Regions from separate parts of the Homo sapiens genome. Here region 2 is linked to region 1. The links are contacts of gene promoters, found by promoter capture Hi-C in blood cells and fetal thymus (Javierre and others, 2016). All regions are on one chromosome and are shown on one strand. The core of a region is centred on a gene start or on the middle of the fragment in contact, and the rest is flanking DNA. Distances in the headings are between cores, read along the strand shown.

Region 1 (5,761 bases), core at 1,739-4,238:
ATGAATGCATTCCTGAATGAACGACTGAAAGAGAAGTATGAGCTTGTGGTGAGCTCATTTTGGAGCCAAACGGTGCTGGGTTTAAATCCTGGCTCTCTTGAAGACTAGTATTGTGACCTAAGGGAGATTACTCTAAAGCCTCTGTTTTCTAATCTTGAAATAAGGCAAATGGAATTTACCTCAAGACAAACCATTGTCAACTTATATTGATGAACAACAGCTATAGCTACATATAACTTAGTCCTGTCACTAAATTTCTGTGAGTTATCTTGGAATGAAAAGACAAAATTAAAAGACAATGAAGCTGTATTCTTGCAGATTAATTTATTAAGAACAACAGTAAAAATATACTCATTGAATGTCTACTGGGTAGAAGACATTATGCTAGGACCTGTGGAGAAATTAAATATAAATTAATATTTGGCCTATGGAGGAGTTAAGGTATACAGTATAGGCTAAATTTTAAAATAAAGTAGGAAATGTCAGGTGCCATAAGAGAGGTATCAGATTTTAGATTAAGAGTTCGTTTGTAGCTGAGACAATGAGGAAGGCTTTTTGGGACAAGTGGTGTTTGAAAAGACCTTTCCTACAAAGGAAAGGTCAAAAGATTTTTGCTGACAGTGGAGGAAGGAAGACAGGAATGAATGCAACCATGAGGAGGTGGAGATATCTAGGAGAGAAATGTGGGCTTGGCCATCCTATTGATGTCATTGTTTCACCAGATGCTGCAGTTTCAGCTTCTGAAACCAAGGGTTAGTGACCTGCCTTTTTCACAAAGTACAATGTGCCCTGGTTTTCTGTCTGGAGCCATTGATGCTCTGCCCAGAACAAGGCCACCTGATGCCGACAGCTAAGGCAGAAATTGGCCTGTTCACACCGTAGCCCCTCAGAAGCAGCAGTTTTGTCACTCTTTTTCACAATGCCCTGAAGACACTTGGCAGAGGCTCTACTGCAGGGGTGAGGAATCACATCCCTGTGAATAGGAATGAGCAACTGGAACTGGTGTGGACACTTGGGGAATGATTAATAAATCTTATCACAGATTGTCAAATTATGTTATTTAGAATCAAACTGCTTGTGGATGAGGCAGAAGATACATACACACACTATAAAGATGGTTTTCTCTAATGACCAGTGATGATGAGCTTTTTTCCATATGTTTGTTGGCTGCATAAATGTCTTCTTTTGAGAAGTATCTGTTCATATCCTTTGCCCACTTTTTGATGGGGTTGTTTTCTTCTTGTAAATTTGTTTAAGTTGCTTGTACATTCTGGATATTAGACCTTTGTCAGATGGATAGATTGCAAAAATTTTCTCCCATTCTGTAGGTTGCCTGTTCACTCCAAATGCCCATCAATGATAGAATGGATAAAGAAAATGTGGCACACATACACCATAGAATACTATGCAGCCATAAAAAAGGATGAGTTTGTGTCCTTTGCAGGGACATGGATGAAGCTGGAAACCACCATTCTCAGCAAACTAACACAGGAACAGAAAACCAAATGAGCATGTTCTCACTCATAAGTGGGAGTTGAACAGTGAGAACACATGGACACAGGGAGGGGAACATCATACACCGGGGCCTGTCGGGGGTGGGCGGCAAGGAGAGGAAGAGCATTAGGACAAATACCTAATGCAAGCGGGGCTTAAAACCTAGATGACAAGTTGATAAATGCAGCAAACCACGCTGGCACATGTATACCTATGTAACAAATCTGTACATTCTGCACATGTATCCCAGAACTTAAAATTAAAAAAAAGAAGAAGAAGAAAAATGGTGTTCAAAATATTTCATTTTACAAGTGGTAATGAAACTGAGCTTTTAAAAAAAAATCAGTGATGAGATGTCATTTCCAGGAATCCTCTTTTGGCACCACCAGCTTGAGTTCATCACACTGCCACCAGCCTGCATGGGTGCTGCATTTCCCCTGCTGCTGTATAATGGTGGTTAAACTATGGTTCTGGGGCACCAGGCTTCCTGACCTTGAAGGCAAGCTCCTCTATTGACTAGCATATGACCTTGGGCAGTTCCTTTAACCTTCCTAAGTTACAGTTTCTCATCAGTAAAATGGAAATGGTGGCAATACCTGTCTAATATGGCATATGGAGAGTAGTAAAAGAAATGACTAGTGCAGTAAAGAACATCTCAGTGCCTGCCACACAGCAAGTGCTTTCTCTCCAGATACCAGCGTGACTTCTTTCTGTCTCATCTCCTTTAGATCTTTACTCCACTGTGAAGCCATCTTTGACCATCCCATTTAAAAATGCACCCCCTACCTCCAAACATTATCCCATTTCCTCCCTTCTTTTTTGTCCACCGCACTTCATCACTATCTCACATACTATGTATTTTAGTTATTTGTTATGTTTATGCCTGTCTCTTTAGTAGAATGCAAGCACCAAGCACCTGTATTCCCAGATCAATGCCTGGCATGCAATAAGGACTCAAGGGAGGAAGAGATGAGCCAGCCCTGCTATGCTGAAACTACTCCCGGCCCAGTGCTAGCCCTTTGGGACCCCGTTTGAACGTCTGACTGCCCTTTGACACCTGGACCAGTGGGCAGGAAGAGAAACTAAAATCGAGGTAGTAATTTAAGCAGCACATTATGGGGGGGCTCTGGCCTTACTGAACTTGAACTCAATGCTGCCGATTTTTCATAAGCCTTGATTCATGATACCCCACTCCCTCTTGCTCAGCTAATGAGCTCCTCCTGTTACCCAAAGTTGACCCGAGGGACCCACTGCAGAGCCCGGGATGGCAAAGAATTCTCTGACTCAGGCTCTGACCCGGACTCGGAGGGGCAAAGTGAGCAGGAAAGGGATCTGCAAAGCTCACCTCCTCTTGGCCAAGGCGGCCTCGCGCTGGGGAGGCGGCTCTCGCGCTGGGGAGGCGGCTCCCGCGCTGCAGCCCTGCTCCGGCGCCCCGCGCCGCCTCCGCTGCGGGTCGGGAGCGCGCGTCTCCGCCGCACCTCGGATCTAGGAGCTACTCGCCCGGCCCTGGGCGGTGGGAGGCGGCGGCGGCGGCGGCGCTCGCGCACCTCGGAGGAGCCAGGAGCCGGAACCAGGGCCGAGCCCGCGGGCCGGGGCTAGCCAGCCGGTAACCACGGGCGGGACAGGGCGCCCAGGGCGGAGCAAAGCCCGGGCGCTGGGTGCGGGGCGCGTGCAGCTTTGGTCAAGGCAGGGCTTGCTTGGGTTTGGGGGCAGTCTTTAGTTTAGAGGGGCTAGAGAATGGGGTGGGAGGAGGAGAATTGGGGTGTGAGGACGCCCACGGGAAGAGTGTGGACCCCGTGGAGAGCACCAAGTTTAAAACCTTCCCGGCAGCCCGCTGATGTGCGTGTGGACGCCGCTGGGCGTCCGAAAAGCCTGGAAGCGGCGGCGCTCGGGGCTTGGGTGGGCTTCCTCCCCTCCGCTGGGCCCCAGCGGCCGAGGCACACCCTTTCCCGCTGGTGAGAAAACTTTCCTTGCTGCGGCCCTCCTGCCGCCTTGGTGCCCTGCAACTGAGAGAGCCCCCCTGGGCTGGGGAAATGTGCTGGCTCCTGGCCCCGGGCGCGCCTCCATGCACTGGGCAGGGTTCTCAGATGATGCCTGGCTTGACAGTTGCTCATTCATTTTGTTTGGACTGGGGAGCCTGCTCGCAGGTCGTGTTACTGATTAGAGGGAAATAGGGGTTTTACACTTTCCCCGCCGCCCCACCCCGCAACCCGCCCCCGCTCCCCCCGCCCGCCCCGCGCCCCGTGCCCCGTGCCTTTCCCATCCTTTCTGTGTAATTAATTGAGGAAGGCAAAGAGTAGTCTCTGCAGAAACCTGTTTGGAGGCGTTGTGGTTTCCACAGCATGTTAGATGGCACAGAATCTCAGCCACTACTCTGCATTTAGTTTGACAACAGTGAAACACTCTGGTGTTTTGAAGGCAAAGGAAGCTTGAGGGAATGTGTCCAGGGAGACGAGAGAAGGGAACTCTTATGCATAAATTAATTCTTACGAAAACCCCAAAAGTAAACAGTAGTATTTTCAGTTTGCAGGTAGAGAAAATTAGATTGCGATATTAAATACGTTTTCCAAGGTGACTGCCCCAGTTAAGTAATAGTGGGGAGTAGGGGTCTGGAAGCTAGGACTGTGAGTCTAGTTTCCTTTAGGTACATTGCATGGGGTACACAGACAAGAACAGGTGCAGGAGAGTGACGAGGGCCTGCAAGGATAAGGTCAGGAAAGCCAGAGGCCACTGTGAGCTGGGGTACCCACAAGGAGTTTCGTTCTTATGAGGAAGATCATCCAGTGTTTATGGAAGAATAGATAATATTAACAGGTGATAGGAAAAGGAAGAGTTGCTTCCAGTCTGTATCTTTCTTTTCAAAGTGAGGCCAGCCTAAACCCTTTAAAGAGGGTCTCGAAGCCCGAAACTGGACTGGATTGTTCAAAACCCAAATGGCAGACGTCCTAGAGTAGTGAAAGCGGTTACAGTCATCTTTGTGCAGGTATGAGAGATGAGAATGGACCCAGGAGACTTTTTAAAAGAGGGAAACATTGAATCCTGGCAACATTCTAGAACAAATTCTTTAAGATAGCTCAAAACTACCTAGGGAAGCATTTACAAATACTTACGCCAAACCAACTCCCTTCCCTTTTCTAGCAATCTACTGGGATATAGATCAGGGTATGCTGTATCCATTGTCTTCAAATGTGGGCTGTGACTCATTAGGCTAATGATCAGTTTAGTGAGTTGCAAATAGCAGTTTTTAAAACATGAAAGCCAAGAGAAAGAAAGATAAGATATCAGAGTGCATTGCAGGAGCAAGGGAAAGTACTGTTTTGTGAAGCGCGCGCTGGTGATGCATGTGTCCTGTTCTGTGTTGCTGATCCTGCTGCCTCTGCGTGAGTGTTCATACCCATCGCTAGCTGCCCCCTTTCAGCCTTCTGAGCTAGCCCCATTCTGGTCACAGTGGGGGTCATCTTCTTTTACCTTGCAGATTATGTCATCAACATATTCTGGAAAGCTGTTCGCTTCCTCCTCCCCATTTCTGTTGGCCCCCAGATGCTGAGGTATTTTGCCAATCAGAATTCATCTCTGAATTATTTATCTGTGACCTTTTTTGATAGTCACAGTTCATAGATAACTTTTATCAAACATATTAAATTAGTTCAAATTGTATAAAGAGAATATCACATCTGTCCTTTTTAGCTTTCAAGGGAAATGTTTTCATTACTTGGAGTACAAAAAATATTGGAAGAACAATATTCTTATGATGTTTGTGTAATATATTTAAGGAACTATTATTATACCAAGCTATGATATTTGGAAGATTACCAGATAATGCCTCATTGTGTCATTTTCTGTCTAGTCTTTTTTTTTTTTTAAATTTTTCTCATTTTGGCTTTTTTTCCTAAATGAAATATCAAGGTAGATATATGAGAACCTCTCCATAACTCTTGAACCCACTGGTTACTTCAAGAGTATGAGGGTTCATCATGCAAAGGAATATGAAGAAATGTTTTAATAAACAAAATGAAAAATAATATGAGGGTTGAGCAAGGAGGCCTTGTTGAATAGATTTACTTCCTTCATCCCAAAGCTAGTGATGGTGTATCTGAAATTGGTGGGTTCTTGGTCTCACTGACTTCAAGAATGAAGCCACGGACCCTTGCGGTGAGTGTTAACAGTTCTTAAAGATGGTGTGTTCTGAGTTTGCTCCTTCTGATGTTCGGACGTGTTTGGAGTTTCTTCCTTCTGGTGGGTTTGTGGTCTCGCTGGCTTCAGGAGT
Region 2 (6,440 bases), core at 1,068-3,567, 140 kb before region 1:
CTATAGGCAGTGTCTTTCAAGAGAGAAAGAATTCTTTCTGTATAAAAAGGCAATATTCGTTTTTAGGTAAAAAAATGATATCCTTGAACTGAGCTTTTTAAAAAAGTGGTGAGCTACTAGGCACTGGATCTGTTCAAGCAGATGCTGGATGATGCTTTGTCTGTAAGATATTATAGAGATAAAGCCTGTGCTGGATGAGGCTAAAAATTGCCTTAAAGTTCTCCTAGTCTTTAAGACTATCATTCTGTGATTTTGAAGTTTACATTTCTGACAACACAAAGTACTAAATGGTAATTTTAAAATGGGTAATTTTTATTCAGAGAACTTGTTTGAGAGCTCAGAATTCCAGATATAACACAAAAGAGGTAATTTAGTATGAAAAGATATTAAGAACAGGTACTACCAGTACATTGCCTAGAGAAACTCAGTGTAGTTATTGTTCTGAATATGTGTTTTAAATTGTGCTGCCTCTCTGCTATGATGAATTAGCTATACAGTGTACCCCTAATATTGCTAGGGCATTTAAAAATGATTTATTTAAACATTGGAGTATACCTTCCTAATACAACCGTTGTATTTTAGTTTTAATAAGTGGCTCTTCTGAACAGTTCTCAGTCAGTCCTTTTTTGGGTCTGTTCCTGGTTAGAGTTTAAAAAACAAAACACACACAAAAATAAAGTATCAGCATAAAGGAGGGGATGGGTGGGTGGGTGAATGGATAGATGGATGGATGGATGGGTAGATGGATGGATAGATAGATATTCTCCCTAAATCCCCCCTTTGCCACTGAAGAGCACCCATGTCAATGATCTAAAAATACCAGTTGGATTGTGACCAGGAGTCCTTATTTACAGTCCAGTTTTACACCATGGAGGATTGGTGTTTCATGAATCTGTTTAAGCCCATTTTTGCTGTTAATTATTATTAGGATTTAGGTTTTGCAGAACTCACTAATAGCCTAGTATCAATTTGAGATTATATCTGCTGGCCCATAATTATTATTTATTTATATTTAGTGAGTAATTGGATGCTCAGATCTGCCAGACCAGAGCAATTAGAGATGTGGGAATAACTTAATAAAATTGCATCACTGGAAAATTTAGATGGTTTCAAAATTAGTTTCTAAAAACCAGGTGGAACTCATAGAAGGCTAGAACCTTACACATGAGAGATTTTATTTCTAGAAGCCATATATAGTACAAATAGAGTACAGGCATACCTTGTTTTATTGTGCTTCACTTTATTGTACCTTGCAGGTAATGGATTTTTTACAAATTGAAGATTCGTGGCAACTCTGTGTCTAACAACTTTTTGGCACCATTTTCCCAAGAGCATGTGCTCACTTCATGTCTCTGTGTCACATTTTGATAGTTCTTGCAAACTTTTTCATTATTATTGTATCTCTTATGATGATCTGTGATCTTGATGTTACTATTGTAATAGTTTTGGAGTGCCACAAATCGAGCCCATATGAGATGGTAAACTGAATGGACAAATGTATATGTTCTCACTACTCCCCTGACTGACAATTCCTGTCTCACCTTCTTCTTGGGCCACTCCATTCCCTGAGACCCAACAATATTGAGATTAGGACAATTAATATCCCTACATTGGCCTCTGAGTGTTCCAAGTGAAGGAAATGTTGTATATCTCTCACTTCAAATAAAAAACTAGAAACGATTAAGCTTAGTGAGGAAGGCATGTTGAAAGCTGAAAAATGCTGAAAGCTATGCCACTAGTGCCACACAGTTAGCTAAGCTGTGAATGCAAAGGAAAAGTTATTGAAGGAAATTAAAAGTGCTATCCCAGTAAGCATACGAATGATATAAGAAAGCAAAACAACCTTATTGGTGATATGGAGAAAGCTTTAGTGGTGTGGATAGATTAAACCAGCCACAACATTCTCTTAAGCCAAAACTGATTTAGAGCAGAATGCTAACTGTCTGCAATTCTAGGAAGGCTGAGAGAGGTGAGGAAGCTGTGGAAGAAAAGTTAGAAACTAGCAAAGGTTGGTTCATGAGGTTTAAGGAAATAAGCCACCTTCATAACTTAAAAGTGCAATGTGAAGCATCAAATGCTGATGTAGAAGCTGCAGCAAGTTATCTAGAAGATCTAGCTAAGATCAGTGATGTAGTTGAATACACGAAACAACACATTTTCCATGTAGATTAAATAGTCTTCTATTGGCTAAAGATGCCACGTAGGAATTTCACAGCTAGAGAGGGGATGCCTGGCTTCAAAGCTTCAAAGGACAGTCTGACAGTCTGACTCTCTTGTTAAGGCCTAATGCAGCTGGTGACTTGAAGTCAGTGTCCATTTACCATTCCAAGAATCCTAGGGCCCTAGAGAATTATGCTAAGTCTGCCCTGCCTGTGCTCTATAAATGGGACAACAAAGCTTGGATGACAGTACCTCAGTGTTTATAGCATGGTTTACTGAATATTTTAAGCTCAATGTTGAGACCTACTGCTCTTTAAAAAAGTTTCTTTTCAAATTACTACTCATTGACAATGCAACTGGTCACCCAAGAGGTCTGATAGCACTGTACGTCATGCCTTCTCTATTAAGCTGTTCTTGCATTGCTGTAAATAAATACCTGAGACTGAGACTAGGTAATATATAAAGAAAAGAGGTTTAATTGGCTCATGGTTCTGCAAGCTATACAGGAAACAGTGCTGGCATCAGCTTCTTGGGGAAGTCTTAGAGAGCTTTAACTCATGACAGAAGGCAAAGCAGGAGCAGGCACATCACATAGCAAAAGCAGAAGCAAGAAAAAGAAAGAGGAGGGGTGGAGGTGCCACACACTTTTAAATGACCAGATTCTTCAGAACTCTCATGAAGACAGCACCAAGCCATGAGAGATCTGCCCCCATGATCCAGACAACTTCCACCAGGCCCCACCTCCAGCATTGAGGATTACAATTCAACATGAGATTTGGGCTGGGACAGATATACAAACTATATCACCTTCTAACACGGCATCCATCCTGCAGCCCATCAATCCAGGAGCCATCTTGATTTTCAAGTTTTATTATTTAAGAAATACATTTTATAAGGCTATGACTGCTGTAGATAGTGATTCCTCTGATGGATCTGGGAAAAGTAGATTGAAAATCTTCTGCAAAAGATTCACCATTCTGGATGCCATTAAGAACATTTGTGATTATGAGGAGAGAACAAAGTATCAACATTAACAGGAGTTTGGAAGAAGGTGATTCCAGCCCTCATGGGTAACTTTGAAGGGTTCAAGACTTGAGTGGAGGAAGTCACTGTAGATGTGACAACAGCTAGAAAACTAGAATTAGAAGTGGAACCCAAAGATGTGACTGAAATTGCTGCGTGATAAAACTTGAATGGATGAAGAGTAGCTTCTTAGGGATGAGCAAAGAGAGTGGTTCTTGAGATGGAATCTACTCTTGGTGGAAGATACTGTGAACATTGTTGAAATGACAACAAAGGATTTATAATATTACATACACTTAGTTCGTAAAACAACAGCAGGGTTTGAGAGGATTGACATCAATTTTGGAAGCAGTTCTACTGTGAGTAAAATGCTGTTAGACAACATGGCATGCTACAGATAAATCTCTCATGAAAGGTCGAGTCAGTTGAAGGGCAAACTTTACTGTCAACTTATTTTAAGAAATTGTCACCGCCACCTCAGCCTTAAGCACCCAACATGCTGATCAGTCAGCAACCATCAACATCAAGGCAAGACACTTCACCAGCAAAACGTTTAACTCAGTTAAGGCTCAGATGATATTAGCATTTTTATGAAAGTATATTTAATAAAGGTATGTACATTATTGTCTTAGACATAATGTTATTGCACACTTAATAGACAACAATATAGCGTAAACATAACTGTTATTTATTTTAGAGACAGGGCCTCACTGTTTTTTCTGGCTGGAGTGCAGTGGCATGATCATGGCTCACTGCAGCCTCAAACTTCTGTGTTCAAGCGATCCGCCCACCTCAGCCTCCCAAGTAGCAGGGGGACTACAGGCACACTCCACCATGCCTGGCTAATTTTTAGGGTTTTTTTGTAGAGACAGGATCTCACTATGTTGCCCAGACTGGTCTTGAACTCCTAGCATGAAGCAATCCTCCTGCCTCGGCCTCCCAAGCTACTGGGATTACAGGCATAAGCCGCCATGCCTGGCCTAAACATAACTTTCATATGCACTGGGAAACCAAAACATTAGTGTGACTTGCTTTATTTGCTTTACTGCAGTGGTCTGGAACCAAACCTGCAATATCTCTGAGGTACACCTGTATAATAAAGCACGAAGAAAAAGCATAAAGTTTGTTTTTTTATGTTTGTATTTCTCTGCCACATCCAGGGGTCCAAGTTTTTAGTTGTTCAGAAATACTTTTGAGAAGGAAAAAAAGGGAGATAAGGAAGGAGAGAAAGAGCAAAGAAGAGCCTCTGAATCAGAAGAAATGCACCTGTTCTGTTTTGGGGCTAGGTTTAAGTTTCATAATTAGCAAATTACTAACACAGCCAAGTGCTTTTTGATCTAAAGCATCTTGGACTGAGACACTATTTAACAGTGTTAATTCCTTGTGGTAAGGGATAGACATTCCTAGTTTTTTTCGTCTGGAAAGCATGGGATACTACTCACGTCCACGGAGTGATCCTAGCCCCTATCAGAAAGAAAGATAAGATTGTGACAGTATAAGGGTCAATGTAAAGGGCTAGCAGGTTAGCAGAGAACATGTATGGAATGTTTTAGGCTTTATGTGCTCATCATGGATAGCTATTTAAGCTACCAGAAGAGCTGGTTGCTGAAACTCGTGGAATTCCATCACAAATGATCATGGGTTGTAGATTTCTTGTTCTTGAGAAACTGTAGAACTCCAGTCAGGACTTGATTGTAGAGAAAGTTTGGAACTCTTGTTTGGGAGGCATCCTCTGTCTTAAAAAAGCCTATTGGGAGTAATTCTGATCCTAATCATTACCACTCACGTTTTTGGTCTCTGGATTTTGGAGCATTAAACAATGGGAAAAAATTCTTCTAAATCTTGTGGGACTCTAGGCATATGGGGAAGGAAAAAAGAGGGAACTTAACTAGTTTTGTTCAGACTTATTTGGAATGCTGCTGAAAGAAATTCTGTGAATTTACTTCCTTTTGTGCTTACCTTTAAGAGACTTTATAAAGCTGGACTGGTTGGTTATTTTCTAATATATAGCTGGTCAAAAAACTGCAGTACTTTTCTTGGGTCTGAAATCCAACCTCTTCTTTTCTTCCAAGATTATTATATAGGATGAACATTTTAAGTTATCTGAGGTTATTTAAATTCATGGAAGTCATCATATAAAGAGGAAATAGTCCTGGATATTTAAAAAAAACCAGTCGTTGTTATTGCACTTTCGTGATGTCTTTAGGGCTAGATTTGTCTGGTATCTATCTAGTTTTCAAGAATGAAAAAGCAACTTACTTCCTTGGGAGAGCTGTGCATTGAGATATTTTGTGTTTGTTGTTCCCTATTCCTTTCTTAAAAGATAAAAATAAATAACAGTTGAATAGATGAAAGAAATATTTGGAGAAGACAAAATGATTAAATTCTGAATAATAATCTTTGAGAATAGTTGGGCTTCCTTTTCACAGAGCGTGCCTAAGTGGTCACCATTGCTTAACCTTTGCTGAGATGATCAGAGACGTGGATTAGAGCTTGATTCTTTTTTCATCAGATTCTTCTACCAGGGCAATATGGAAATGTTATGTCTGTAGTAGTCACTTTCTCTCTCTCTCTTCCTCTCTCTCTCTCTCTCTCTGTGTGCGTGTGTGTACTTTCAAAAATTATATACACAGTATTTCATTTCTTTGTGTTGGGAGACAATTTTCTTTTGCATTTTTGCATGTCTTGAGAGTAGAGGCACTGTCTTTTTGTACAGTCTTTTAAAGGATATTTGCATTGTGAACAACCTTGAATGTTAGTGTCTCCCTCTAGAAGAAAGGACAGCTTTGCTTACTCTTCTGTATAATAAATATCTCCCTCAGGAGCAAGGGCAGGCATGCTTATAAAAGATTCCAGTTTCCTGAGCTCAGAGTTCCTCTTCTGTAATGCAGCGCATTAAGTGTACAGGTGTTACCTGGCCCTCTTCACATAGCACTCTAGTGAATTAGAGTTCAGTGAACTGACACAAATGTTTATATTCTGACTACTGCTATTGATGTGAGTGCTAAACTCTTCTTTGTCTCTGACCTAGGAGTCTCTTGTTATCTGCCAGGACCCATGAAAGTGGCAGGTTAAGTTGTTTGCTTGCAAGTGTGATGAAATCTCAGATCCTTTACAGTTAGTTCTTGATACTTTGAAATAACAGTGATTAATTAAATGGAATGTATTTGGAAAGATTTATTGAAACTTATATTTATAAGTTTTACAATTTTTGAGAAGTTCATTTAGGATATTATTTCTGTTTGCTTTGGTACAGG

What was found. Contacts are between HindIII fragments. The CHiCAGO score rates a contact against its expected background, and 5 or more counts as called.
Region 2: a fragment that was not itself captured here is called in contact with the fragment with the promoter of MRAP2 in region 1 in 1 of 17 cell types (erythroblasts); the score reaches 5.1 in erythroblasts.

Annotation. Positions count from the first base shown.
Region 1 is chr6:84,030,784-84,036,544 of GRCh38, forward strand. MRAP2 (melanocortin 2 receptor accessory protein 2) reads left to right here and starts at 2,989. Exons shown (of 4, transcript NM_138409.4): 1 at 2,989-3,100. The HindIII fragment of the contact is 7,640 bases long and covers 1-3,920 here.
Region 2 is chr6:83,887,083-83,893,522 of GRCh38, forward strand. It overlaps RIPPLY2-CYB5R4 (RIPPLY2-CYB5R4 readthrough), which reads left to right. Exons shown (of 18, transcript NR_174604.1): 5 at 6,440. It overlaps CYB5R4 (cytochrome b5 reductase 4), which reads left to right. Exons shown (of 16, transcript NM_016230.4): 3 at 6,440. Among named protein-coding and RNA genes, the nearest start is that of CYB5R4, 31 kb to the left of the region's middle. The HindIII fragment of the contact is 155 bases long and covers 2,241-2,395 here.